7 separate regions of the Homo sapiens genome follow, and all the other regions are linked to region 2. The links are contacts of gene promoters, found by promoter capture Hi-C in blood cells and fetal thymus (Javierre and others, 2016). All regions are on one chromosome and are shown on one strand. Each heading gives the region's core, a stretch centred on a gene start or on the middle of the fragment in contact. The rest is flanking DNA. Distances are from core to core; before and after follow the strand shown. Region 1 overlaps SH3PXD2A (SH3 and PX domains 2A). Region 2 holds the start of COL17A1 (collagen type XVII alpha 1 chain). Region 3 overlaps SH3PXD2A (SH3 and PX domains 2A). Region 4 overlaps SH3PXD2A (SH3 and PX domains 2A). Region 5 overlaps NEURL1 (neuralized E3 ubiquitin protein ligase 1). Region 6 overlaps SH3PXD2A (SH3 and PX domains 2A). Region 7 overlaps SH3PXD2A (SH3 and PX domains 2A).

The links. Contacts are between HindIII fragments. The CHiCAGO score rates a contact against its expected background, and 5 or more counts as called.
Region 1: a contact is called between a fragment that was not itself captured here and the fragment with the promoter of COL17A1 in region 2, in 9 of 17 cell types (total CD8 T cells, activated CD4 T cells, naive CD8 T cells and 6 more). The highest score is 12.1, in total CD8 T cells.
Region 3: a contact is called between a fragment that was not itself captured here and the fragment with the promoter of COL17A1 in region 2, in 3 of 17 cell types (naive CD8 T cells, total CD8 T cells and activated CD4 T cells). The highest score is 6.3, in naive CD8 T cells.
Region 4: a contact is called between a fragment that was not itself captured here and the fragment with the promoter of COL17A1 in region 2, in 2 of 17 cell types (total CD8 T cells and naive CD8 T cells). The highest score is 6.5, in total CD8 T cells.
Region 5: a fragment that was not itself captured here is called in contact with the fragment with the promoter of COL17A1 in region 2 in 1 of 17 cell types (naive CD8 T cells); the score reaches 5.8 in naive CD8 T cells.
Region 6: a contact is called between a fragment that was not itself captured here and the fragment with the promoter of COL17A1 in region 2, in 11 of 17 cell types (activated CD4 T cells, naive B cells, naive CD8 T cells and 8 more). The highest score is 8.9, in activated CD4 T cells.
Region 7: a contact is called between a fragment that was not itself captured here and the fragment with the promoter of COL17A1 in region 2, in 9 of 17 cell types (M1 macrophages, naive CD4 T cells, naive CD8 T cells and 6 more). The highest score is 7.1, in M1 macrophages.

Annotation. Positions count from the first base shown.
Region 1 is chr10:103,701,915-103,705,640 of GRCh38, forward strand. All of the region lies in intron 5 of SH3PXD2A (SH3 and PX domains 2A), which reads right to left. Among named protein-coding and RNA genes, the nearest start is that of SH3PXD2A-AS1, 43 kb to the right of the region's middle. The HindIII fragment of the contact is 3,864 bases long and covers 462-3,726 here.
Region 2 is chr10:104,083,886-104,088,069 of GRCh38, forward strand. COL17A1 (collagen type XVII alpha 1 chain) reads right to left here and starts at 1,995. Exons shown (of 56, transcript NM_000494.4): 1 at 1,838-1,995. The HindIII fragment of the contact is 1,426 bases long and covers 738-2,163 here.
Region 3 is chr10:103,683,216-103,686,898 of GRCh38, forward strand. All of the region lies in intron 6 of SH3PXD2A (SH3 and PX domains 2A), which reads right to left. Among named protein-coding and RNA genes, the nearest start is that of SH3PXD2A-AS1, 62 kb to the right of the region's middle. RefSeq lists enhancers at 706-775, 3,406-3,455. The HindIII fragment of the contact is 1,892 bases long and covers 1,097-2,988 here.
Region 4 is chr10:103,753,866-103,758,041 of GRCh38, forward strand. All of the region lies in intron 3 of SH3PXD2A (SH3 and PX domains 2A), which reads right to left. SH3PXD2A-AS1 (SH3PXD2A antisense RNA 1) reads left to right here. Exons shown (of 3, transcript NR_038940.1): 3 at 1-1,544. Among named protein-coding and RNA genes, the nearest start is that of SH3PXD2A-AS1, 9.2 kb to the left of the region's middle. RefSeq lists enhancers at 2,062-2,719, 2,720-3,375. The HindIII fragment of the contact is 3,542 bases long and covers 260-3,801 here.
Region 5 is chr10:103,574,306-103,578,262 of GRCh38, forward strand. The region is part of intron 3 of NEURL1 (neuralized E3 ubiquitin protein ligase 1); the gene reads left to right. Among named protein-coding and RNA genes, the nearest start is that of NEURL1-AS1, 59 kb to the left of the region's middle. The HindIII fragment of the contact is 799 bases long and covers 2,178-2,976 here.
Region 6 is chr10:103,718,917-103,722,969 of GRCh38, forward strand. The region is part of intron 5 of SH3PXD2A (SH3 and PX domains 2A); the gene reads right to left. Among named protein-coding and RNA genes, the nearest start is that of SH3PXD2A-AS1, 26 kb to the right of the region's middle. RefSeq lists an enhancer at 3,665-4,053. The HindIII fragment of the contact is 4,828 bases long and covers 1-4,053 here.
Region 7 is chr10:103,736,879-103,740,540 of GRCh38, forward strand. The region is part of intron 3 of SH3PXD2A (SH3 and PX domains 2A); the gene reads right to left. Among named protein-coding and RNA genes, the nearest start is that of SH3PXD2A-AS1, 8.1 kb to the right of the region's middle. The HindIII fragment of the contact is 3,185 bases long and covers 236-3,420 here.

The DNA.
Region 1 (3,726 bases), core at 1,144-3,643, 380 kb before region 2:
TCCAACCACCATCCATCCATCCTTCATCCAGCCATCCATCATCTATCTACCATCCATCCAACATCCATCCACCATCCATCCATCCATCCATCTATCCATCCACCATCATCCATCCACCATCCATCATCCATCTATCCATCCACCATCATCCATCCATCTATCCATCATCCATCCACCTATCATCCAGCCATCCATCCATCATCCATCCATCATTCATCTACCATTCACCCATCATCCATTCACCATCCATCCACCATCCATCCATCCATCATTCATCCACCATCCATCCACATCTTGACTGAAGGTCTGTTGTAGACCCAGTCTTGTGTATGAAGTAAGAGAGTGGCAGAAGACACACTGTCCTGCCCTCTTTTTCATTTTTTTGTCCATCTAGCTGGAAAGAGATGGCAAACACCCACGAAAAGACAACATACAAGTTCCCTTGTGATCAGGTGCCCCAAAGCTTGGTCAAAGGAAACACTGTATAGAAATTTCCAGGACAGGGAGATCAGAGTGGTCTGGGGTGGTCAGGGAGGGCTATGTGGAAGATGGGGCACTAGAGCTAGCCCTTGAAAGATGAAGACTGTTTAAAAAGAGCAGAAGCAGGAAGGAGATTTGGGGTGGAAGGGATGGTGTGAGCAACGGTGCAGGGGCAGGAACAGATGTAAGCCTGTGTGTGTGCGTGTGTGTGTGTGTGTGCATGCTGGGTGCGGAGGGCAAGAAGGCTGTATGTCTTGGGGGAGCAGGACAGGCAGCTGGGGCTGGACTGAGCCCCAGAGGAAGCAGCTCAGATTTTAGAAGGAAGTTGCTGAGAACAACCCAGCGGCAGTATTCCTAAAGAGAGATTCTCCCTGAAGGCTGTGGCACCAGCTCTGTGCCTGAGGATCACATTTCTAGCTCCTTCTGGTTTCCCTTGTTCAGGTGGTGGGGTGAGGACTTGTGTCGGGGGAGCCAGAGGACTGCTTTGCCCCTCAAGCTACACTGGCCCCATCTGCAGACATGTGCCTGGTCTCTGTGTCACGTGTGTGTATGGGTGTGTGTGACACACGGGCAGATACCAGGGCCCCACTGCAGAGCACAGACCTCTTGGGTCGATCCTTGGCTGATGGCCCCTAACTCCCCAGCCCTGGCCTAGTTTCGACCTGAGACTGGGAGCTTGGGCCAAGGAGCTCCCTATTTCCCATGGAGGCCAAGGAGCCCACCCAAAGTCAGGCTGTGCTTGTTTCTGCCTTGGCCTCTGTGGGAAAGAGGACTCGGAGGGCCCCACACTCCTCCCACACACCTAGCCCACCTGCATGGCCCTGGGAGGCCCGGGTGATCGCCTCTTACAGTGAAGGAACCTGAACCTCCCAGACTTTCCTAGACACCATGTGACAAACCCACAAGCACCAAGCAGCCAGATGTGCCCAGCCCAACAGAGGCAGCTGCGTTAGCCCCATTTTACAGATGCACCTCAGTCAGCTTAAGTCACTTGCCTGGTGTCACACAGCTTGCAATGGGAGGCAAGGCTGCAGACTCGGTTGTCTGTGCTGCAACCACCACAGGCCCCCTCCTGCCCTGCCTAGTGTTTCACAACTTTCAAGGCCTAAGGAAGGGGCACCTCCTCCAGAAAGCCCACTCTGATTTTGACCCCCAATAGCACTGAATGTTCCAATTCTGTCCCCAACAGTGGTGCCCTCAAAGGAGCTGTCCAGTAGAATTCTCCGGGGTAATGGAAATAGTCTCTATCTGTCCTGTCCAGTATGGTACCACTGGCCACAGTGGCGCTGAGCACTCAAACACTGAATTGTGACCAGTATGACTCAAACACTGAATTTTTCATTTTGTTTAATTAAGACTTAGATTTAAAGAGCCACCGTGGCTACTGGCTACTTTATTGGACAGTACAGTCCAGACTCTGACATGGTATGGCCAGAAGGTTTGCTTGGCTCCCATGGTGCGTGTGTGCATGTGTGTGTATGTGTCTCTCTGTGTGTGTGTAGCTGCCTAGGTTCAAATCCCAGCTCTGCCAGACAGATTATTTAGGGTCTCTGTCTTCATTTATAAAGTGCAGAGACTGAAATGATCCACCTAATTGGATTGCTGGGGGATAAACAAGTTAATACACATAAAGTCCCCCGTGCACAGTCAGGCTCAGTAACAGGGAGCGCATACACAGATCCTCCACCTGCTCCAGCTCCACCTGCCAGTCACAGGGCCCTGCTGCCAGCACTGGTTCACCCTCGAGAGGGGAGAGGGAGGGACTCTGGAAGAGCTGTGACTTGCAGGGGAAATGACAGAACCACCTGGGACAGAATGGGCTTGGCCAAAGGAGGGCACTGAGAGAAGGAGCCAGGAAGGTGGGGGCGGTGGCCACTGGAGGAGGAGCAGCATGGGAAGAAGCAGGGACACGGGCCTGGCTGGCCTCAGGGGGAGGGGGGAGCAAGGCTTGGGGTGTCTGTACAGAGATGAAGAAACCCAGGCTCTGCAGGGTAAAGCCACTTTGCTGAGACCACACTGGTGGCTGGTGGCTGGCAGCACTGGGGGTGGCAGAGCTGGGGACTTCCAGGTCCATCTGAATGACTGTTATCACTTTCACATTCCCCCAGAATCCCTTGCTGCTGCCAGGCTGACGGGTCTCCCCAGAGGCGACAGGAGTGACAGCCAAGTCTGGATCCCCCTCGATGCTGGACCAAGAGGCTGACTTAATGAGCCTGTTCCACAGAGGGCAGTGGCTGCCATGCTCCTCACAGCAGGCACTCAAAACGCAGGACAAACGGGCTCCTGGCCAAGGGCCTGTGTGCCCAGGGATGGGTGGCTCCTGGGCTAGCCTGGGTGCAGGGCGGCCTGGGGGCTTCCCCAGGGTCTGCCAGAGCATACATGTAAAGGACGGGGTCTAGGGAGGAGTCCTGTAAGATGCCAAACCAGGGCCATCCCAGCCTGTGAGGCCCGAGACATGGGTTCCAGGCCTGGCTGTCTGAGCAGGCAGCATGACCTGGGTGGTGGCAGCCCTCTCTGTGCCTTAGTTTCCCTGATTGGGCTTTTGCAAAGAGGCCTCCAGCTCCAGGCTCACAGGACAAGCCTGTGTCCTGCTTGTAGCAGGGGGGCCATCCAGGAACCCTAGGTAATACCTAGGTAATACCTCCATGCTCCCAGCCTTCTCCAGCTGCCTTCCTGTCAACCCTGAATGCTCCTGGGCCAGCTCAGCTGCAACTACAGTGAGGGCCCTGCCTGCTCACCAGCCTGTCCACTACAGGTCCCAGCAGGCCAGCCGTGGGCCGCCACCTCCATCCTCCACCAAGCAACCTCTCCTGAGCTTCTACACCAAGGTAAAGCCCCCGAGGTCCCGGAGCAGGCTTGTGCCCATGAACCCCAAAGTATGGTGGCAAACAGGGGGAGGGAAGGGCGGGCGTGGGCCAGGCCTTGGTGGGAGTCACCACTGAGCAGTTCTCCCCACCGTGAGTGAGCTCTTCTTACCCAAAGGTGGGAGTGGTAGTGCTGCTCTTATTATTATTAATACTATTATTGACAAGAGCACTACATTTGTCAAGCATTTACATTATGCCAGGTGCTAAACTAAACCCTTGACACACATCAGCTCATTTTATCCTCACTACATGCCTGTGTGGCAGAGTCCCTTACTATCCCCATTTTACAGATGAGAAATGGAGGATCAGAGAGAGCATGTGACTTGCCCAAAGTAACACAGCTTGTGAGGGATACAGATGGGATTGGAGGCCAACCTGG
Region 2 (4,184 bases), core at 745-3,244:
AGCTTCTATTACTCCATTCTCTATACACTTTAAATTTTAAAACAAAACAACAACAAAATTGCCAAAGTATTAGAAAACCATCCACTGGCTATTGACCTGATAACACAGAAGGGCCCAGCAGTTTGATGCCAGGAAAGCCAATGCCCTGGAATTGAATATCTTGGAGGCTTTGTCTCTGTAACACCCCAGAGATGGGTTTGCTGCTTGCTACATTTGGTATCCTGGATTTTCATGACTGGGAGCAGGTGGGATAGGGCACCAGCTTTGTGATTATGCTGGTTTGTTTACAGTTGTGTCCTGCCACTGTTAATAATGGCAAATGAAACAAACAATGTAAACACAGACTTCTTTTTGTTTTTCATAATCTGAGAAGGTGGTTAGTTCTTAGGTCAGGTCAGTTTCACCAATCTAAGGAGTTTTTTTCCTATTTTTTTTTTTTTTTGAGACGGAGTCTTGCTGTGTTGCCCAGGTGGGAGTGCAGTGGCACAACCTTGGCCCACTGCAACCTCTGCCTCCTGGGTTCAAGCAATTCTCCTGCCTCAGCCTCACAAGTAGCTGGGGTTACAGGCATGCACCGCCACACCCAGCTAATTTTTGTATTTTTGTATTTTTAGTAGAGATGGGGTTAGTATAATATGAGTGTGCACCACTACGCACACCACTATGCTTGGCTAATTTTGTATTTTTTGTAGAGTCAGGGTTTTGCCATGTTACCCAGGCTGGTAAGTTTCTATGCAAGCTTGAAGCAGAGCTGTTCACTTTAATTGTTCCTGTGTAAACTCTGATCAGACTCATGTGGGTGTTTTGCAGGGCCTAAGAGTAAAGCAGGACACCTCTGAATCTCTGGAGTGAGTCTGTGTGGGGATAGACATCTGTCTTAGGTTAGTTCTGACAGATCTGTGCCTTAGCTCTAAGAGAGAACATATGGAGGTAAGAAGAAACTATTCTGCTTTTCAAATAAATACCTTTTAAAAATCTTGCTACGTTTTACAAGTCCACTATTAGACTACTGATTAACTACTTCTCAAAAGAAGGAATGTGCCAGAGGTTTTGCCTCCACTTCAAAAAGTAAAGTGATAATTTGTCAGTTACCAGTTAACGTCATCCACTTAGGTATCTAAACTGGTAATTCTCATCTCAAAGTGAATTTTTTTGGCAGGAGGAAACCCAAGTTGACTCGTAAGAGTATATATACGGGAAACAATTTTCTTCCTTTTTTTATTCCTCTAAGTTTGATCCTGCAAAATTTCTGAATTAATCAGATCATTTCAAAGATCCTACTTTTCTTTAGATTAGAGGTAATTTTACAGCATGGTAAACAGCAATGTTTACCATGTATGGCTTAATCAGAGAGGCCCAGTCAGCACAGGGACTGTTTCTAGAAGGCCCCCTTACCTATACTTTAACTTCACCCCTGAGTTGTTCTCTTCGTCCAGTGGAGAGAGAGACAGAGGGAAGAGGAGAGCAAGATAGCGAGAGAGGAAACTGAGATTGGGAGAGAAGGAATTATAAGCCCGTATCATATTCTAAATAAAACAACACAAGTCATTTTACAATGCTGAAAACAATGCAGAAAGGTCTTGCCTCTAAAGCCCGCTATATTTTAACCAGCCTTCAGCCTTCTCCTTTTCCCCACTTATTTCCTTTGAAAGACCTACCCTAAGCAGAATGCATACACCAAAGTCATCTTTTATAACCAATTGATCACTTTAACCAGAATGCTAGAAACTACAGAACTTCATCTTCTTTTCTCCAATAAACATTTAATTTCTAAATGGCAAACCTTAAATCAAAGTCTCAGAGAAAAGGAGAAAGGTCAGTCTTCCTGTTTACTTACCTGGTTTGAGGTTTTGAAGGAATTGGAAACAACTTTGAATAAATCCCCCTCTCTCTTTCTTCTCCTGATGTTTTCTTCTAGAAATTTGCAGTGCTCACTTTTTTTTTATCCAGACCCAGCCAAGGTGTGTTAAAGCTGAGTGATCTTTCAAAAATGTTCACTTTTCTTTCTCTCCACCTTGTTTCTTTCAACTCTTTGCTTCCAAACATGTCCTGACAAAGGTGTGTCATGGTTTACAGCGTTACTCCACCCTTCCAATTATCTGACACTTGCTGGATTTAAAAAAAAAATCTGCCTCCAGGAATCAAACTTTACTGGAGGCAGAAAGCTTCTCCTTCCAGCTTAGGTAGATTAACTATTTATAAGGCCCATGGGGAAAAGGAAACAAAGGACCAGCATAAAGGAAATGCTTTTTTATTGCCTACCTTCTACAGCTGGAGAACTGCCACAACTTTGTGGCAGTACCCTTCCTCAGTGCCATGGGTACTGGAATCCCACTGCATGATTCATGAGTCTAGGCACGTGGATGGGCTCATGGATGAGCATGGTCTAGGCACATGGATGGCCTGTGGTCATACTGCCTGAGCCCTAGAAAAACTGAAGTTGGCAGGATTTATATTCAAGATCTGTTTCCCCTATAGATGTCTTCGTCCTCTGTTCCTGTGTCCTGTGTCCTTTGTCTTGTTTCCCCTATAGATGTCTTTGTCCTCTTTCCCCTCTTGTGACTCAAGCCAGGTCAAGCCCATCTGGAGAAAATAGTTGGTGAACTAATTCATAATATGCTAATGACTGAATGTACTGAGCAATTGGTGGGGTAGGGGTTCGTTTTACAAAAGAGGCAACCAGATATAGTGATGCTGACCTAAAAGAGTGACATGTTAGTGATGGAATTTTAGGCATTTAGCCACCTAATAATGGAGAGAGGTGCTGTTGGGAAGGGATAAGGACCTTCTTGTCCTTCAAATCAGGTGACCGCATAGTCTCCATACACCTAAAGACATGTGTGGGCTCCCAGATGTCCTGCAACTCCAAGTACATCCTGGGGACCTTTAGATTTCCCTAGAGGGTCAACTTGCATCAATCAGGATAATTCTTATGAATACCTGGATAGCATCTGGCTTCCCAGGGGGCCTAAAGACTAGCTTGAGACACTTGGTGTTGGTAAAATGGGAAGTCTGAACCTGGAACTCACTCAGGCAGTCCTTTGAGGCCATAGCACATTCCTGGGACCCAGCATCACACTGGGATTCCCAGTTCTGAGGCATTATCCTAAGATACTGGAGGGGAGCAGTGGGGCCCTTACAGCATAGCACCGATGTGCAACTGCACCTTGCTATTGTGGGCACTGCATCCCATGGAAGGGTAGCAGACCACAACAACAGCTGTGGGGCTCTTGCTCCTAAGCTGCCCATATTCCACACTGGAGTCGTGCATTTCAGAACCCTTTCAATTATGCAGAATTTGACACTTGCTTTGTAGGATGTTCTTGCCTTCCCCAAATAAATACTCAATATGTCTTCCGTCAGTTTCATAGTAGAAGAACACTGAAGAACCCAGAACACACAGAGCTTTCAGCATAAAATAGACATGCCCCTGCATCATTTATTTCTTTATTCATGAATTCAAGAATTAAACAAAAATATATTGGCTCCTGCTTGGAGCCAGACATTAAACTATGTGCTAAGAGTTTGGTGGTGAAATATGAACATAGTCCCTCTGCTTATGGAGTTCACAGTCTAATGGAGGAAGACAGGCCTTACATAATGTATTAGTCGGTGAGGGTTCCCATAACAAAATACGACGGACTGGGTGGCTTAAACAACACAAATTTATTTTTTCACAGTTCTGTGGGCCAGAAGTTCAAGATCAATGTGTCAGGAGGTTTGATTTCTCCTGAGACCCCCCTCTCCTTGGCTTGCAGATGGCCGCCTTCTTGCAGTATCCTCACATGGCCTTTCTCTGTGCATGCACATCCCTGATGTCTCTCTCTGTGTGTCCTCATCTCCTCTTCTTAAAGGACACAGTCAGATTGAATTAGAGTCCACCCTGATGGGCTCCTTTTTTACTTAAATTTAACTACTTCTTTAAAGACCCTATCTTCAAATAAATTCACTGAGGTACTAATGGCTAGGGCTTCACATATGAATTTTGGAGGGACATTATTCAGCCTATAACAGTTACGTACAATATATAATTGCAGATTATATATATATATATATTATAAGAGCAACTGCAAGAATATGATAACTATTATAAAGAAAGCATACTGACTTGAGGCCAGGAGTTCAAGACAAGCCTGGGCAGCATAGCAAGACCTTGTCTCTACTAAAAAAAAAAAAATAGCTGA
Region 3 (3,683 bases), core at 793-3,292, 400 kb before region 2:
GTAATAAAAAATAAAGGCTAGAAATGGTGGCTCACACCTGTAATCCTAGCATTCTGGGAGGCTGAGGCGGGTGGACTGCCTGAGCTCAGGAGTTCAAGACGACCCTGGGCAACACAGAGAAACCCCATCTCTACTAAAATACAAAAAAATTAGCCAGGCATGGTGGCGGGTGCCTGTAGTCCCAGCTACTTGGGAGGCTGAGGCACGAGAGCTGAGAAGCGGAGGTTGCAGTAAATCGAGATTGGGCTACTGCACTCTAGCCTGGGTGACAGAGCAAGACTGTCTCCTACATAAATAAATAAGCCAGGCATGGTGGCACACCAGTGGTTCCACCTACTTGGGAGGATGAGGTGGGAAGATCGCTTGAGCCCAGGAATTTAAGGCCACAGTGAGCCCTGATCGCACCACTGCACTCCAGCCTGGGCCATTAAGTAAGACCCCATGTTAAAAATTAACACCAGAAAAACCCACAACAACAACAAAAAAGCAAAAACTCATTCCAGCTCCACATCCTTACTCATGCCTGGCTGTCCCTCCTGCAGGGTGCCCTACCCACACCCTTCAGCCCATCACAATCTCCTCTGTCCTTCAGGGCCATCTCCAGCCTCTCCCACAATGGCCAGCCACCCCTCCTTCCACCTTGCAGATCCCAAGCCATCCTGCCTAGTATTAATGAATCCCTGAAAAGGTCCCACCTTCTCAGTTGAGCTGTGCACTCCATGGGGCCAGGAGCCAACAAACTATTAAGAGAAGTGAAAGCCTCACAAAGCCTGCGCTCTGGAGGGAGGAGGCCTGCTGCCACTGCCTCGTCTCCCTCCATCTCCCTCTGCTGCTGGTTGGGCAGGGCAGGCCCAGGGAGGGCCAGAGAGCCCAGCTCTGCTAGTGCCCTGCTGAGGTATTTACCTTGCGGGGAAGGGAGGTACCAGAGACCTCACAGACCGGCTTCCTGTGCTTCAGGACAGCCCTCCTCACACTTCCACCTGACAGCCCTCCTCACACTTCCACCTGGTTCCAGGGCTTGGTGGGAGTGCTGACCAGCAGAAGACCAGGTTCTGCCCACCCCATACCCTGGGCAAGTGGCCATCCCTCTCTTAAAAGCTTCCTCTATAAAAGGAGGAGAATAGAGGAACTTTTTCAGGTAGACTAACCCTTTTTTTTTTTGAGACGGAATCTCACTCTGTCACCCAGGCTGGAGTGCAGTGGCACCATCTTGGCTCACTGCAAACTCCGCCCCCTGGGTTCAAGTGATTCTCCTGCCTCAGCCTCCCGAGTAGCTGGGATTACAGGTGCGGGCCACCACATCCGGCTAATTTTTCGTATTTTTAGTAGAGACGAGGTTTCATCATGTCGGTCTTGAACTCCTGATCTCAGGAGATCCAACTGCCTCGGTCTTCCAAAGTGCTAGGATTACAGGAGCGAGCCACCACGCCCGGCCATAGACTAACCCTTAATAGTGGCCAGAACTTATGGGCGGGTCTTGCTCTAAGCAAATTCACTTTATTAAAAACCAAACTCATAAAAAGGAAAATTAGGCTGTGTGCTGCGGTTCACACCTGTAATCCCAGCACTTTGGGAGGCCGAGGCAGGATAGTCACTTGATCCTAGGAGTTCAAGACCACCCTGGGCAACATAGCGAGACCCTGTCTCTACAAAAACTAACTGGACGTGGTGGTGCATGTCTGTAGTCCCAACTACTCAGAAGGCTGAGGTGAGAGGATTGCTTGAAGCCAGGAGGTCAAGTCTGCAGTGAGCTGTGGTTGTGCCACCACACTCCAGTCTGAACGACAGAGCCTGGGGCCCTGTCTCAAAAAAGCAAAAACAAAAACAAAAACAAAAAAAAGGCCAGTCATGGTGGTTCACACCTGTAATCCCAGCACTTTGGGAGGCCAAGGTGGGTGGATCACCTGGGGTCAGGAGTTCAAGACCAGCCTAGCCAACATGGTGAAATCCCATCTCTACTAAAAATACAAAAAATTAGCTGGGCATGGTGGCGGACGCCTATAATTCCATCTACTTGGGAGGCTGAGGCAGGAGAATCACTTGAACCCAGGAGGTGGAGGTTGCAGTGAGCTGAGATTGTGCCACTGCACTCCAGCCCAGGCAAACAGCAAAACTCTGTCTCAAAAAAAAAAAAAAAAAAAAAAAAAGAGAATCCTGTGTCTGGCTGACCTGGGGCAAGTTCCTTAACTTCCCTTTCCTGGTCTATAAAATGGGACAAGACCACCTACCCTGGTTGTTGCAGGGAGGCTCCTGGCAATGATGAGATAGTGGACACCCCACCTTCCCCCTGTCTGATTGAGGAGTCACTCCGGAGAAAGGGCAAAAGCTGAAACCAGCGCTCTCTCCTGTTTGAGACGAACCCCTCCGGTGCTGCCTCCTATTCATAGTAAAAGCTGCTTCACCCTTAGTGCTTCCTCTAGGCCAGGCACGGTGCTGGAGTTATCACTTCAGGAACTTTCACTCAATCCTCAACCCCATGAAAAAAACCTGATTATCCCTATTTTACAGGTGAAGAAATGAGCCATAGAGAAGGACTTGCCCAAGATCACACAGCAGGCAGAGCCGGGACATGAAACTAAGCATTCTGGCTCCAGAGTCCACGTTTTTAACTCAACGGAATACTCAGCAATGGCTGAGTCTACGCCCTGTCGTCCCCTCCTGGGTCTCACAGAATGGAAATAAATGTCTCAACTCAAAGACCAACTTCTCCCCTTCTTTCTTAATCTATCAATAATTAAAACGGCAATAACAAATGGCAGAGCTGGGGTTCAAACCCTGTCTTCCTGTTGCCAAAACCTAAACTGTCAACCCCAGGCAACACTGCTTCTCTGCAGTGAAACTACATTAATGCTGATCTCATGAACTCAGCTAATAATACAGTTTTATGATCACTGAGATAGAAGTGGGGCTGAGCTCACCACTTTTCCAAGGAGAAGAATAAAGTAAACAGGATTTCATGAGGAACATCAACACTTGCCTAAGAGAACAAGCTTGTAACAACACTCTTGAGCAACCTCATCTGCATGTAAACGAGCTGGAGCTTCCACAGGACTCCTGGGTTGGATGAACCCTCAGGCTCTCCTGACAACAGCCCCAGGGCCCTGACAATCCCGAGGCTCCGTGGCCACCTGTGCCCCCTAGTGGCGCATCTCAGAACTTCCCGGCTAGGTGCCCTGGCGAAATGCAGCTTTTTAGAGAACTGGGTGAGAGGCATGAGATCTTTGCAGGTCTCAAGAGAACCCCTTGCTCTGGGGAGTCTGCTCCAGCCCCACTGGGGCTCCTGGAGCAGTGCCCACCTTGGGGAAGCAACAACAGCTAACAACAACAGGCCCTTCCTACTGCCAGGCACAGCACAAAACCCCTCAAAGGGCATCACCTCCTTGAACCCTGTGCACTTTGGGGCAAGCCAGGTCGCTGCTACTATAACAACCCCATTTGACAGGTATGATGGTCAGGTGGTACACATCAACCTGGCTAAGCTACTGTCCCCAGTTATGCAATCACACACTAATTTAGGTGTTGCTGGGGAATTTTTTTTTTTTTTTTTTTTGAGACAGAGCCTCGCTCTGTTGCCCAAGCTGGAGTGCAATGGCATGATCTCGGCTCACTGCAACCTCCACCTCCTGGGTTCAAGATTCTCCCTGCCTCAGCCTCCTCAGTAGCTGGGATTACAAGCACCCGCC
Region 4 (4,176 bases), core at 781-3,280, 330 kb before region 2:
CTGGACCACTGGGCTCACATCGTGAACAGCTGCTCCACCCTCTGTCTTTCACCAGCAAGTTTTTCTGGTAACAAGACCACATAGGTCTCACTTAAGCCATCTTCACCAACTACCAACTATTAAACTGGTTAATTCGTCTTTCAGATCAGAAACAAGAGGCCAGGAGTAAAAACTGTGCCAATCAGAGAAGAATTACCTGGCCACCAAATTACCAGTCACTCACTCATCTCAACTCTCCTCCCTGGCTCCTTTACTTTGAAGCTTAGGTCTGCAATGGTTATTTTATATAGAAGAGCAAAATATGCTCCTTTCAAATTTCACTTTTTTTTCTTTTTTGAAATTAAAACCAATTTTGTTTAGAGACAGGGTCGCACTCTGCCACCCAGGATGGAGTGCAGTGGCATGATCATAGCTCGCTGTAACCCCAAACTCCTGGGCTCAAGTGATCCTCACACCTCAGCCTCCCGAGTAGCTGGTACAGGAGTGTGCCACCATGCTTGGCTTCACTTTATTTTGTTGACTTAACTTTTTCCAGAGACATCTTACAAGAGCCTGTTTTCCATCCTAACAGTACGACGTAACTCCAGACATAGGCTTTAGACGTTCTCATGCCACCCTATCTTCAAAACCACAGAGAGTTCATGAGCCAGTCTTGCCCATCTCCAATCAGGGAACTTCTAAAATAAAAATCTTAGCAATCTCCTTGGCCCAAAACTTCACCCCATCTTGGAAGGGAGGGGAGAGAGAATGTTCTGATCTATATCTGATGAGGGCGTGTGGTTGGGACCTGAGCATCCTCCTGGTTGGGCTAGTGATGGGGAGAGAGGGCTGTTACTCACGACTCCCTCCCACAGAATACCAGAAACAGGCAGGCAGCTCAGGTGTATGTAAGGATGTGAGGCCAAGAAACCAGCCCTCACCAAGTTACCCCTGTAAATCCTTGTCTCCCCATGCACCTCTACTTTGAGTCAGAAATGGATTCATTGCAGGCTCAGTTGTTTGTATTATGTGAATGAACTGAACGTAACCAAGCACCAAGAGAGCCCTAAAGACACAGTAGACCTCCTGTAGAAGGGCTCTGATGGACCTTCAAACATTGCTTCTCCAACTTTATGGTGCACACAAATCACCTGTGCATGTTAAAATGCAGACGGTGACTTACAGATCTTGGGGGAGGCCAAGTGTCTGCATTTCCAACAAGCTCCCAGATGATGGCCACACTGCTGATCTGAGGACCACATTTTGAACAGCAATCCTTAAAACACACAAGGCTGTGGGACCGCACTCCTGAGAAGAGACCTCACTCTTGGAAGGGATTCTAGGAGGCTGCATTCAAACCATCCCAGAGACAGCTCACAATTTTGTTAGGGACCTGATACTAAAAATTACCAAATCACAATCGTGTGCTGAGGGCTTACTTTGTGCTTTTCAGATGACATTTCATTTGATGCTCTCAATAACCCTGAAGGGATTTCAGAGATGGGGATTATGATGGAGCTTCAGAATTAAACTGATTAAAACTGGCCCAGAGTCACACAACTATGAAGAGGCTGAGTTGGGATTTCTTTTAATTTTTATTTTTTGAAACAGGGTCTCACTATGTTGCCCAGACTGGTCTCGAACTCTTGAGCTTGAGCAATCCTCCTGCCTCTGCCCCCTGAGTAGCTGGGACTACAGATGTGAGACAGCATGCCGAGCCTGCTGAGTTGGGATTTGAACCCCAGGTTTGTCTGGCTGTAAGTCCTCCAGTGTGGAAGTACGATAGCTACCCATCTCAGCCACGGAAAATAGCAGAGTTTTGGTTCAGGCAAGTAGCACTAAGTAGAAAGCCCAGGTATGAACCAGATCTGCAGGAGCCCAAAGTCATTGCTCAGAACCACCCCCTACCCGCTGAGAAGTTCTTCCTGTCCCTGGAAGTTCTCTCTGAGATCCACCCAAATGTGTCCTCACTAAGGCGAAATCTGGCTTCTCCTGTTTGGGCCTGGGGAGAAACATAAACCTAGCCCCTTTCCTTCACACGAGCTTCGATCTTGACAGTTGAAGCCTGCAGGGGTGTCGCCAGGCCACCCTGTCCCTGACAGGTAGAGAAAGGCGAGGCTGCCAGCCAACCCCCACCCTCCACATTTGCCTCCTCCCTTCCCTTTTGAAGGTACATTCAGATGAACGGGCTCCATCTTCAGGCCATGCCAGTCCCCTGGGGCCAACTGTGGTCTGGAGGCTGGGCAGCCTGGCATCCTGGGGCCTCCTCAGTGGACATCAGTCCTGGGAACTGTGGAGGTGAAGGGGGAGGAGGTATTTTCAGCGCCCAGAACGATGGATCTGCTGGGTGCCAGGCAGCCCTGGATGAATGATACATCAGTTCACACAGGTGATGCCTAGAGCCAGCTCAGTCCCTGCCAGAGAAGAGCTCTGGCTTGGGGCTTTGTCCTTGGGCCTGGGTCCAGTTGGAGTGACCCAGGAGGGCAGTGTGCGGGATTAGGCCAGGGACACTGTGGGAGTTTATCTCTTCCAGTGCCCCTCACCTCCTAAGAAGTTGTTGGGGGCCGGAGCTCCTTCTCAATGCGCCTCAGTGTTCCCCTCCACCACCATCACCCGCTGCTGCCACTCCCGAGCCCTCAGTGAAACCTGGACCCAGAAACCAGAGTGCCCAGTGCCCAGAGGCTCCTGGGGAGGGAGGCTGCCCACCACAAAGCACCTTTCATATGCTCCAAAGGCTTCGGCCACCTCAGGGAGGAGGGAGGAAGTCCTTTCCCTTCACCCCCACGGATGCAGCCCACAGGCAGGAGTGGGGAGTGGTGGTGAGGTGAAACACTCCTTCTGCCATCTTGGCCAGGGCTGCCCAGACAGAGCTATGGGCAGTCATCCTCGACCCCACCCCACCACCTCCAATCCATCAGCATGGCCTCTTGGCTGTCCTTCTAAGACAGACCTCAGTCTACTTCCCTCCACCCAGGGCCCAGCCTAGGCCAAGTCACCTTTGCCCTCTCACCTGCCTCTCCAGGACCCCAGCTGGTCTCCTCTGCTCCGTGCAAGCTCCCGCCAGCCCCTTCTCCAGACTCCACACAGGCCTTTGAGGCCTAGCACCTTCTTCTGTCTCTAGCCTCAGCTGCCCACTTGCCCTCTCACCTCTATCAACCCTGGTCTCAGTAACCATCCAGTCTGCCATCTACGCTGGAGTATGAGTTGGCTGGAAGCACCAACCCTGGGGACACCAGGGTATAACTGTACTCTCTCAGCATGGAGGGAAAGGATCCAACCTTGTAAAAGGACATTTAGGCATCAGGTAAGGAAAGGATGTATTTCCAGGGGGAGGGAGTGGAGGGTAAAGGACAGGAGTGTCACCGAGCCCTGAAATCATGCCTGTCACTTTCTGGTGACTTTGCCAACAAGCAAGGTGATCCCTGATTGCTCAAACTTAACTTCTTCAATTTTGTGCCATGGTGATTAGCATGGGGTGCACTAGAATCCAGGACTCTGGAGACCCAGGCCCGGGTGCATTTTCTGCGTCTTAGATGACACAGACTGACTGAGACCATGAGAAGAGACAGGCTTTTCGGCCCAGATCAGAAAGTTCCTGGGGAAGATACCTAGGATACAATCCATCCAGGACGGAGGGTTGGGGGTAGGTGTTCAGGAGCTGATTCCCTTCTAGAATGATTGGGAAGGCACATACCAAGTTGTAACAAGGTGGCCTGGCTCTTTTCCTGGTCTTGGAATGTGGGGATGTCGCGGGGGAAGGGCTTGGGAGACTGATCTACATTTCAAAAGTAAAAAAGCCCCTTGCGTGGCTGACCCCTGCAAAGCTTGTTACTCCCTGCAAGACCTGGAGGGTCTGCAGCTCGGAGTCTGGAAGGTAGTGACAGTGACACTGCCATGTGATCAGAGGCCGGATCCCCACCTTTCATCCCAGATCAGCCATCTGGGTCATCTGCTCTTTAGAAACAAGCTCCTTGCTGCTTTGCAAGTTACCACAGGCCGGGAAAGAACTGCAGGAAGTGAGGCTGTGCCTGGGCTGCGGCCTGGGCTGCAGTGGGAAGAGCTGACTCAGCACAGAGTGGGGAGGGCAAAGGAAATCCCACATCTGTGTCCTGCGGCAAAGCCACCACGAGCACAGACAGGCTTGCGGCACCAGTCCTCTCCCGTTGCACGCCACACAGCGCTTTCCATGCATTAACT
Region 5 (3,957 bases), core at 1,327-3,826, 510 kb before region 2:
GGGATGCCTTCCATCTGCCGAGATGGTTTCTATCCAGTTATCTCATTTAACCCCTCTGAAGCAGGCCCCACAGGGAGTGTTTTTTATCCCCATTTGGCAGGGAGATAACTGAGGCCCACGCAAGGCCTGGCTTGCCCATGTAGGGATGTGGCAGAGCTGGGACTTGAACTGGGTGTTCTGATGCCAAAAGCAACACCTTTCCCATTACCCTCCAGCTGGTTTAAACATAAAAGGAGGCAGGAAGTCAGAGGAGGCTGAGGTCAGTGGGGGAGGATGGAGGCCAGGAGGGCTTCTTGGAAGAGAAGACTTGGGCTGGGCCTACAAGTTCCAGGAGGGCCCTGGCACATGGGAATGAAGTGGAACACGACAGACGGGCTTCCCACCCTCAGGGGCTGAGGAGGGCTTGGAGAATAATCTGAAGGGCCCATCCTGGGCCAGAGCCCAGGTGGCCTGACCTGGTCCAGCCCCATCCCCCCTGTGACTATAAATGGGTTTGCACGCAGTGTTTTCAGTTGCATTTGGAGTTCCTGACAGGCTCCTCTCTGCACACCCGATAAGGCTAAGGCCCCAGCGGATTCCGTCCCAGCCGTAAATCACCATAATCCCTGGGTATTTTCAAACACTGATTATGGCCCCTAAATTCAATTGGCAGATTGAGATATCCCTTCATTTATTCTTCCTGAATTTTTTTTTTTTTTGGTAAAGAGAGAGAGGGAGACACAGAGATTCATCCAGAGATCTCCTGAGGTGGGCGTGATCTCTCCACCTTCGTTCACTGCCTGTCCTCTGAGATACTCCCCTCTACCCCAGGTAGCCTCAGGATCAGCTTCCTTCCCTGCCTTCTCTTTCCTCTCCGCCCCACTTCCCGCCCCTCCCTCTCTCCATCACCTGCACCTTTACTGCACCTGTATCTTTCTGGGCTTTTCTCTCTCCCTTGACCTAGATCCTCTCACCCTTCTTGCTTTCCCTGGTCTTGGTGTCCTTCTCCCCGCTGCTGTCTCTCTTCTGAAGAAAGTCGCTGTCCATCTTGGTGGCTCTGAGGCTGGGCCAGTCTTTCCTGGGGTGACTGTCCCCCAAACCAATGTCTGATCTTTGGGGATTTTCTGCCAGGCCTGCCCCTGCCCCCTTTGTCTGAAGCCTGTGGTCAAAGCCCTCCCAATCTTACCTGCTCTGTGTTTGTTCCTTAGACCAGAGGCTTCCCAGGGTAGCTGGCACATAGTAGGTAAGCAGGTCAGGCCATGGATGGGTTGTGTCCCCAGACAGAGTGGAGGCAGGGGCTGGTGTCTCTCCCCAGTGGACGGTCCTCCCTGCCCTGGCCAGAATCCAAGCCCACAATGGTGCCCATGCCATGGCCCCAGCAGGCCCTCCTCCCTGTTATGGTGCCCATGCCACAGCCCCAGCAGGCCCTCCTCCCTGTTATGCTGGAGTTCTGCAGATCACCTCTTTCTTTGGGGCGCCCTGGCCCAAGCCCAGGCTGGTATCGTCAAGAATAACAGCTTCCTTCCTCCAGGGAGAAGGACCCGCCAGCAACTAAATAAACACAGGTTTTATGGGGTGATTAATACATGGAAAAAGAAGCTCCTATCCCAGTATCTCAAGGTCTCCTTGCTCCTCTCAGAAATGTCAATTCAGGAAGAGCAGCTGTGAGTCCCAGCAGGACTTGGCTGGCGGGCCAAGAGCCCACTTACAGGGTGCTCCAGAGCATCCCTTGGTGCCTACCACTGCCTAGGCACTAAGCGGGGGCAGGTGGGAGACAGAAGAATCAAAAACCCAGCCCCTCTCCTGGAATAATGTTTTCCCTGGGGGACACATCATATAACTGATGCAAGGTGGCCCAAGTTCAATTCTGCAATCAAGTGTGACCTGAAGAGTAAAACTGTGTGTATGTGTGGGAGGGGAGTGCAGCTAGAGAGCAATCCAGGAGGACTTCCTGTAGGAGACAAGTTTTAAGTCAGGAACTAAGTGAGGTGAAAAGAATGGATTGGTTGAGGAACAATTTAGGTCAGACAGGGGGGTGTCCACAGGTGCAGAGGTGGGGAATTGGCGGTCAGTAGGGGAGCAGATCCAGGAGGGGAAGGAATGAGGTAGAAAGGTAGTGGGTGACTTGTGGAGGTGAGGGGTGTGCACAGGTGTGGGTATGTGTATGCATCACAGGGGAGAGAGCCATGAGAGCTGAAAGCTTCCAGCAGCTTTTGTGCTGTCAAGTTGTTCAGTAAGAGGGACTGGCTGGTTGACAGTGGAGAAGTATGAGACCCAGAGATGGGGAGAGGCCTGCCCAAACTCTCCCAGCTGCTCATCAGCCAGGCCAGGCCTGGAACCCAGATCTCTCAGGCTGATCTGGGAGTAAGGTCAGAGGGAGGAGGCTATCAACACATCTAAATGGTGGGGCTGGGTCCGGGAGGGTTCTAGGAGGGGATGAGGTGGGGGCTCCCGAGGGCTTATGCATTCTATTCCATCCCTTGCCATGCACAGGTTCCCAGGTCTTGGTAAAAGACCCACGCCTGCCTACTGAGGAGAGAGCTGTATGGAGACTCTCAGGATGGGCTTCCAAGGGTCATGTGCTGCTGGGTGGGTTCTCCAGGCCCCCTGGAGATAGGGGCCTAGGTCAGGTCCCCTATCCAGGGTGTGCCTCAGCTTGGAGGTGCTGAGCATGAGTGATCCCCAGCCGAGGACCACACTGCCATCTGGGCCTTCTGCTTCCCAGGCTAAACCAATATTTACCCTCAGCTGTGGCTGCTAGGGGCCAAGAGGCAAATATTAGTTTAAGGAGCCTGAGCCAGCTGTTGGGCTGGGGGAAACAGCTGAGGCTGCCGATCATGATTTCTTCCTCTTTGATGATTTTCATTTCTTTTTGATTAAGAAAAAAATCTTGCTTTTCCTTCTGCTTCAGAGGGTTTTCTGGTGCTTCCTTTCTGCTTACCCCAAATTCTGCCAGCTATATCAGTGCCCCACACCAAACCCTCCCCTCCATTAGGAAGCTTTCCCAGACCTCCCTCATTCAAAATGACCCTTCCTCCTCCTGACCATCGGAAGCACTTGGAGACCTAAGTGGTATAAGCAGCTTTGAGTCATGTATTGTCCTGCTCTTTAAAGATCCAGCATATATCCTCTTTGTATATAAAGGAAGGTATTATTGTGCCCATTTTGTAGATAAGGAACAGAGGCTGAGAGAGGTCTGATAACCTGCCCAAGGTCACACAGCTGGCAGTTGGTGGAGCTGGGATTTGAACCCAGGAGCTTGGGCTACATTACCTTCCAGCTTCTCTAGATGTGAGTCCATCTGATCTCCCTATTAGGTCTGGATACCCGACAAGAGCGGGGACAGTGGCCCTCCTGTGCCTTCCAGAGTCGAGCTTACAAGAGCTCAAGGCATCAAGGATCAACTGCACATGTTGGGCACAGATAGGCCACCAGGGCCCCAGCAGTGCTGGTACAAGGAAGAGGGGCAGTGCAGCGCCCAGGATGCCAGATTCAGTGGGGAAGGTCGGTCTGCCTGCCTTATAGTTCCCCGGAGGCTCCCGAGGGCTTTGTCTGGTTCAGTTATTCCTGTGCACTCTAGTTTTCTACCACAATGAATATATATCAAGTTGAACCATATGTAATCACCAGTATTGGACTGTTTTTAACTTACAAGAAAGGCAATCTCATGTTTGCCCCTAGCATCTCTTGGGCCCAAGAGATTGTACTGGGGCCTTGGAGAGAGTGGTGGGGCTCAGGGTGGGGTGTATGTGGAGGGAGGAGCTCGGGCCTTGCAGTATTGGGGACAATGCCTTCATTTAAGATGCAGGAGACCCACTGAATCAAGGCTTGACTTGGCCACTCATTAGCTCTGGGCAGTTCTCAGCTTCTCTGTGCTTCAGCCTCCTCATTATTTGGGCATAATTATACACACCCCACTTACCTCACAGATGTGGAAAGGCATTTACACAAATGAGAAGGGCTTTTGTCTTTAGGTTA
Region 6 (4,053 bases), core at 679-3,178, 370 kb before region 2:
CTGATTAGGCTATGGTCATTAGCCTCATGAATGAGATCAGTGCCTTATAAAAGAGAACCCAGAGAGCTTGTTTCCCTGTCCACCAGGGTAAAGATGACTATGAACCAAGAAGCAGGCCCTCACCAGACACTGAATCTGCTGGTGCCTTGGTTTAGGACTTCCCAGCCTCTTTCATAAGAACTGTGAGAATTTTATTTCTGTTGTTTATAAGCCACCCAGGCTATGGTACTCTGTTCCAGCAGCCTGAACAGACTGACACACACCATCCTCAAAGGAAAACATCAAAGGGGCTGAGGCCGGTACCCACCTACTCTGGCTGGGGTGGAGGTGGGGAGCGGGTGCTGACGAGGTTGGGAAGGCGTAGTGGGTGTGAGCTGAGTGATGGGTTGGGTCAGGGCTGTGGTTAGAACCGTAGGTCTGGGGCCAGCCAGCCTGGCTTGGATCTTGGCCCTGCACCTGCCAGTTGGGTGACTTCAGGTGAGTGGCTTCATGTCCCTGAGCCTTCAGCTCCTTGGTAAAATCATGTCACAGTCGTACTTACCATGTAAGACCATAGTGAGGGCTGAATGACAACAATCATTCATCCAACAGAGACCCTCTGAGACCCTGCTCTGGGACATGCACTGTTCTGGGTGCTGGGGATACAGCTGTGAACAGAACAAAGACAAGTTCATACTCTCCTGGAGCCTGTGTTCTAGTGGGAGGGGCCAACAATAAACACAGCAAGCGTCTTAGTCTGTTCAGGCTGTTATAACAGAGTACCTTCTTACACTAGGTAATTTCTTTTTCTTTTTTTTTTTCTTTCTTTTTTTTTTTTTTTTTGAGATGGAGTCTTGCTCTGTCACCCAGCTGGAGTGCAGTGGTGCGATCTCGGCTCACTGCAACCTCCACCTTCTGGGTTCAAGCAATTCTCCTGTCTCAGCCTCCCAAGTAGCTGGGATTACAGGCACGTGCCACCACGCCTGGCTAATTTTTGTATTTTTAGCAGAAATGGGGTTTTGCCATGTTGGCCAGGCTGATTTCAAAGTCCTGACCTCAGGTGATCCACCCGCCTTGGGCTCCCAAAGTGCTGGGATTACAGGCGTGAGCCACCGTGCCCGGCCACACTAGGTAATTTCTTAAAAACAGAAATTTATTGCTCACAGTTCTGGAGGCTGTAAAGTCCAAGATCAAGGTGTCAGCAGATTTGGTGTCTGGTGAAGGCTGGTTCCCCACAGATGGCGCACTCTAGCTGTGTCCTGCCATGGCAGAAGGGGCAAATGCTGTGTCCTCACATGATGGAAGGGGCAAGGGCCTTGCTGGAGCCTCTTTCATAAGGGCGCAAATCCCATTATCCTTCCGTGTGAGGAGGCAAAACCACCATGGCTGCTCTGTGCCAGGCTCATCAAAGGTGTCCATGAAGAACATCCTTTCTGTGCAGGGCCAGTGGTCTGGAAGAGCAACCACTAACTGACCGGAGATGGGTCTGGCTCTCCGCCTGCAGAAGCCAGCGAGTGGCCTGGGATCAAAGCCGAGGCGCTCAGGCCTGCTGCCCACCTCCCCCACTGAGTCTGGGCTGTGACAGACCTTGTCTTCTCTGGAAGATGGAAAGGGAAGACGGTCCCCCACCCCAGCCCCCATGAATTCTCAATGGACCCTGCAGCAGCACACTTGAAAGAAGCCAGGGGTTATCTACAAAATTCCAATTAAATCCACAGGCTTTGATAATTTGATAAGCCACTCCACAGTCGCCCCAGAGTCAAAATATGCTGTTACTCGATCCCGTGTTTATGTTCTAGGCTGGAGGGAAGGGAGGTGCACAGTCGCCTGGAAAGGTCCAAACAGCCGGAGAGGGAGGAGGTGCAGGCACTAGGCTGACACGTCGGCAGCCTGTCAGCCGAGGGTCATGGACAAGCTCTGGCTCTTTTGTGGCAGGCACACTCTGCAGGGGAACACAGGTCTCTCTTGGTGGGTCCTGGAGGCGGAGCAGAGACAGGGCCGGGCCCGGGGAGGGGGAGCCCCTCAGAACTGCCTGGCCACAGCTGAGCTCACTTCCTGAGCCTCAGACCTGTCTTGGGGCTGGAGGCATTCCTATTCCCAGGCCCATAACTTGCCAGACCAGTGGTGAACTGGCCCACGTGGCCAATACCACCTCAAGAAAGAGGCAGATAACCCCTGCTGGCCTGGTGATGGAGCGGCCAAATGCTTCACAGCCCCTCCCTGCAAAAGTCAGGTAGGGACGGAACGTGCACACATTCCATTCTGTTCCCCAGCCTTCCATGAACACAGGTGTGGAGCACTTCCTGTGCACCAGTAGCACCTGGCCGGGTTATTTGAGTAAACCCTCTTGACCAGCTCGTGAGTTCTGCATTATCTCATTTTAGGGGAACAGAAATGCAGAGACATTGAGCAAATGGCCAAAGATCACTGAGCCTTAAGTGGCAGGGCCTGGCCCCAGAGCCTGGCCCCACAAAGCCATGGCCTGCTGCCTCCCCAACAGCCAAGTGTCTTGCTGAGCCTGGTTTCCACTGTTCCTCAAGGGCCTCCTAGAGGTGGGCAAAAGGCTAACTTAATGCCATGAATGAAGTGAGGCCGACGGATTCAGCTGACTGGCAAAGAGCAGGTTTGGAGGCATGGATCACAGGCTGGGTCAGCTGCTTTTGTGGCGATACACCTGCTGCCTCCACCATCAACGATCCTGATCCTTTTCCCCCGTGGCCAGGCACACGATCACGGGGGATCCCAACAGCCACCCACGTAGGGAGGAGCATCTCCTCTCTCCCCATGCAAGGACAGAAAATGAGAGGCTTGGAGAGAACATCACAGCTGGGCAAGGGCGGGTCAGGTGAGGACCCAGGGATACTGCTGCCAGGCTCAGAGCCTTCCCTTGCCCTGAGGCAAGGCAAGGATGAAGAAGGAAGGGGCAGGAGCGCAGACAGGTGGGGACAGAAAGGAGATCCTGAGGAGCTTCAGGACCACAGTCCCCAAACCAGTGAAGCAGGTGGGAGAAACAGATGAATGTGGGCTTCTGCTTGCAACCTGGAAGTTCTGGGTTCAAATTCCCGCTCTAGCTGTGAGCTCCTGTTTTGTAATCTGTAATGTGGGGATAAGAATATACAAGCCCTGGCCGGGCGCAGTTGCTTATGCCTATAATCCCAGCACTTTAGGAGGCTGAGGCGGGTGGATCCACTTGAACTCAGGAGTTCGAGACCAACCTCGCCAACATGGTGAAACCCCGTCTCTACTAAAAATACAAAAATTAGCCAGGTATGGTAGCATGTGCCTGTAATCCCAGCTACCAGGGAGGCTGAGGTAAGGGAATTGCTTGAACCTGGGAGCCAAAAGTTGCAGTGAACCGAGATTGCTCCACTGCACTCCAGCCTGGGTGACAGAGCGAGACTCTGTCTCAAAAAAAAAAAAAAAAAGAATATACAAGCCCTGGTGCAAACCTCTCATCATCTGAGTTTCATGGATAACCCTTGGAGGTAGCAAAAACAGGGCTTAATCACTATTCCCTTTTTACAGATGGTTCCCTATTTCTCGCTATTCTTTCTTCTGAAATTTTACATTTTAAATTTTAATTTTTTGTAGAGACAAGGTCTCACTGTGTTGCCAGGACTGGTCTTGAACTCTTGGGCTCAAGAGATCCACCTGCCTTGGCTTCTCAAAGTGCTGGGATTACAGGTGTGAGCCAATATGCCTAGCTTTTTTTTTTTTTTTTTCAATCAGCTGAATTTAAGATTCATCCCTGTTTCTCTCTAAATGTAGAAACTTCGGCCAGCACTGAGCCACTAGGGACCACAGGAAGGCTTGGGGAAGTTACGAGGGATCTGCCTGGACATTACACAGCTAGTAGCAGCAGAACTGGGACGTGAACTCAATACTTTGCATCCTATACCCTGTGGCTTTCCACTGCTTCACGCTGTGAACCAAGCTACTGATAAGCTCCTGATGGTTCACAGTGCTTGTTTCTTGCCTGAGGCAGCCATCAGTGAAGATGGTCTTTGCTAGGCCAGGTGGGCCTCGGAGCTGCTTTTTCCTCCCTCGAAATGCCCAGGCTATTTCAGGCTATTA
Region 7 (3,662 bases), core at 578-3,077, 350 kb before region 2:
CACACCCCCTAGCAACAAAGGTAGCCACAGGATGCAGCCTAGTCAGCCAGAGTCACAGTGATTGGCTCAGTGGTGGGGAGGGACCCAATCTGGGCCAATGAGAGTCAGCCCTGAGACTGCTTTTTCCCACGGTTGCTAAGCTGGCAGGATGAAAGCCTGGCACCTCTAGTGGCCTGGGAAGCAAACGGAATGAGAGAAAGGAAGGGTGGCTAGCACAAGACAGGTGCTTGGTAAAAGCTTCTTGAGTGATTGAAAAGCCAAGTGGAGAGAGGGAGAGACAGAGCCCTTTGACATCATTTCAGCAGCTGGATGTCGGTAGCTGTTCCTAAACCAGGGTCCACCTGGTACTTTTCAGTTGCATAAAACAATACCATTTTCTTTTTCATTTAAATGAGTTGAAGATGGGTTTTCATAACTTGAATTAAAGGACACCCAATTTAGATCATTTCCATTGCATGTGAGCAGACAGGTAGACTGCATATGAATCCACACCAGCTGCTTCTGTCAAGGTCCGAGTGAAGTACTCAGAAAAGCCATTGCCTTGATTTAGATTATTCCCCCAGACACAGCCCCAGAAACAAGGATTTGACTTGTTTTGGAGGCGATCCCAAGAAATATCATTAGGGGAGTGGGACAGTAAGGGCAGGGAGGGGAAGGAAGTGTTATCAGGCCAGTTAATCATGGTGGGCAACTAGAGCTCAATTCTGCTGGGGGGCTCCAGGAGATGACAGAGAATGTACCTGACATGTGGAGGCTGGGGATCTACCCACCAACTCCCTGTTTGTCACTGAGGACTGCCTCTGAGGGCGTTAACTCCAGCACATCTGGCTGAGTGTGTGCCCATGGCTAGACAAAGCCCTGAGGTAGAAGGCCCTAGTGGCTCCAGTGAGCAGCCTTTGGTAGGCAGAAGTGAACAGACAGGGGACCCAGGGGCCATGAAAACCCCAGCTGCAGCCACCCCTGACTTCCCTGCCACCACAAGCATTGGTCGCCAGCCCTGCTGAAGTCAGACAGTGGAACGTGTAACTGCATCCTATTGCATGTGACCTGCTTCCCGTGGATATCTCTCATCTCTCCATGATGGCTCTGCAGCTCACCCCTCCTGTCTGCCCCCACACTACATGGAGCACTAGGCTTTGCATTCAGCAGATGCTCAATGAGTGCTTGCTGGGTCATTCTTGTTCCTCTCCTGGACTCTTGCTCAAGCTCTCCTTCATCATCTTTTCTCTGAAGCCAGAGGGCCGGGCCATCTCCCTGTCAGATGGACAACACTGTGCAGACAGACGACATCACCAAGATGAAGCGGCTCTGCCCTGCGTCCCTCTCGAAAGGAGATAAAACGTGATTTATCCAGACACTGGCGACGCCGCTGTTCCTTGGGGGAAGATGTCACAGATTCGGTATTCCTTGCCTCTTTGCCTCCTACCCTTTTTTGGTTGCCTGTCGCTTGATTGCTCACATGCCACAGGCTACATGTGTGAGGCCAGGGGGAGGCTGTGTAAAAATAAAAACATGAGGTGACCTGAGCTCAGGACTGCCAAGAAGATGGGTGGCCCTGGGGCTGGAATTCTGGGCCTTTCTAATGAAGGCAGTTGTTTGTCAGAAGCTGAGGGATGCCCAGACCCAGTGACACCAGCGGTCCAGCCGTATGAGCAGGACCCTGAAGGACTGTCTGAGATACAGAGGAAACCCAGGGGGACCACAGGAGGGTGGGGGAGGGCCCACAAACCTGCATGGAGCAGGGCCTCAGCCTCCAAAAATGCACTCCCGCCCTTTCTCATCCTGTTGGGGGACAAAAAAGAAAGCAGGGAGATGGGAAGATAAATGGGGTCCCTCTCCCAGCCCCCAATCTCAAGGTTAGCCAAAGCTCTGGCTGAGGCTTAGATCATTCCTGTCCTAGTTGCAGACAGAACTCTCTTTTTTTTTTTTTCCCGAGACGGAGTTTCACTTTTGTTGTCCAGGCTGGAGTGCAATGGCATGATCTCAGCTCACTGCAGCCTCTGCCTCCCGGGTTCAAGCAATTCTCCTACTTCAGCCTCCCGAGTAGCTGGGATTACAGGCATGTGCCACCACACCCGGCTGATTTTGCATTTTTAGTAGAGTGGGGTTTCTCCATGTTGGTCAGGCTGGTCACGAACTCCTGACCTCAGATGATCCGCCCACCTTGGCCTCCCAAAGTGCTGGGAAGAACTCATTTTAAAAACTAGTTAAGGAGCACTGAGGCCTCCACAGGTGTAGGAGATCCAGAGAAGGGAGGGATAGGTTGGGGTGGGGAGGTAGATGAGAGGGTGCTCCTGACTCCTCCCCATGCTGGCCCCAAGCACAGGACCCCGCCCTGCCCTCCAGTCTGCACTCTGAGTGAGGCCACCGGGCCACTGTGCCTGGGGCTGCCCAGTCCTCCCCACCAGGCTCCTGGATCTGCTGCTCACTTGCAAGGTCAGAGGAGAATTTCTGCACAAGCCAATTCCCAGCTGAGTTTTTGGAAGCCCAATGGGGCTTCCCCCTTTCCCGCTGAAATCCTGACAGGAGCAACGTTTTCTTTTCCCAGGGCTTTGGCACAATTGGCCAGTGGGGGAGAGAGGGAGGGAGAGAGGGAGGGCCTGGAAGGGATTCTCCGGTCTTGACTTCTCTGTTAGGAATCCAAACCACACTCTGAAAGCCAAACCGGTGACCGTATAAAAAGGGGGAGAGAAAAAGGAGGGGGAGGAAAATCCCCATGAAGGAAGCCGGGACCACAGGGCATTAAAGGCCTCTTGTAAATATAGTGCAGCCCGTTGACGGCAGGGCTCAGCTTCTGCCAGAGTCTTCAAAGCCATCCAGATGCCGCCCTAGGAATCTGATGAGCATCGCAAGGAAGATTGCACGGGGCATGAGACAGACCTAACTCATCAGGATTAACTCAGTCCTGAAAGCGGAGAAGAAGCTGTGCAGCTGCGACGTCTAAGCAGTAACTGGAGGTCCTTCTTCCTGCCACTCTGGGCTGGGCTGGGGTGAGACCAGCGAAGGAGTGGGGGCCTCCGGTGGGAGTCTGGGGTTCAAGTCCTACCTGGGCCACAGGCTGGCTGTGTGACCCTGAAACAGGTCCCTTCTCCACTGGGACTGCTGTGTGCTCATCGGAGGCCTGGGCTCTATGGCTGCTACCTCTGGAAGCCCTAAGATTGATTGACAGTGGGGACGTTAGTGGGCAGAGGAGGAAGGAGGAAAGGGTTAATGGTAGCTAAGCGCTCAGCACACACCTGGTGCACACTAAGAGCTTTTCACTGAATTCCCTCCCTTCATCCTCGCAACAACCTTGAAGCAAGTACTTTAACCAGGCCCATTTTGTCCTAGAGGAGATGGCAGCTCAGAAAGGTTGAAGGACCTGTCCAAAGTCACACAGCTATCTAGTGGCTGAGCTGGGATTTCAACCTGGGGTTTTAAAGCTTAGAGAGTGTGGGGGAGCCATGATCTTTGCACTTGGATCATGTCAAGCCTTGAGAGCCACCGTGAGGACTTTGGATTTTATTCTGCATGTGAAGGGAGATGAGAACAGTTAAACCCCCAAACCAACCACAGCCTCCAGGGCTCTTCTTGGGAAAGCGGTACCTATGGGATGGACTCCCATGAGAGCCAGGGCCTGGGGCCTCAAGTAGAATCACCAGACACAGTACCACTGGCCAGGG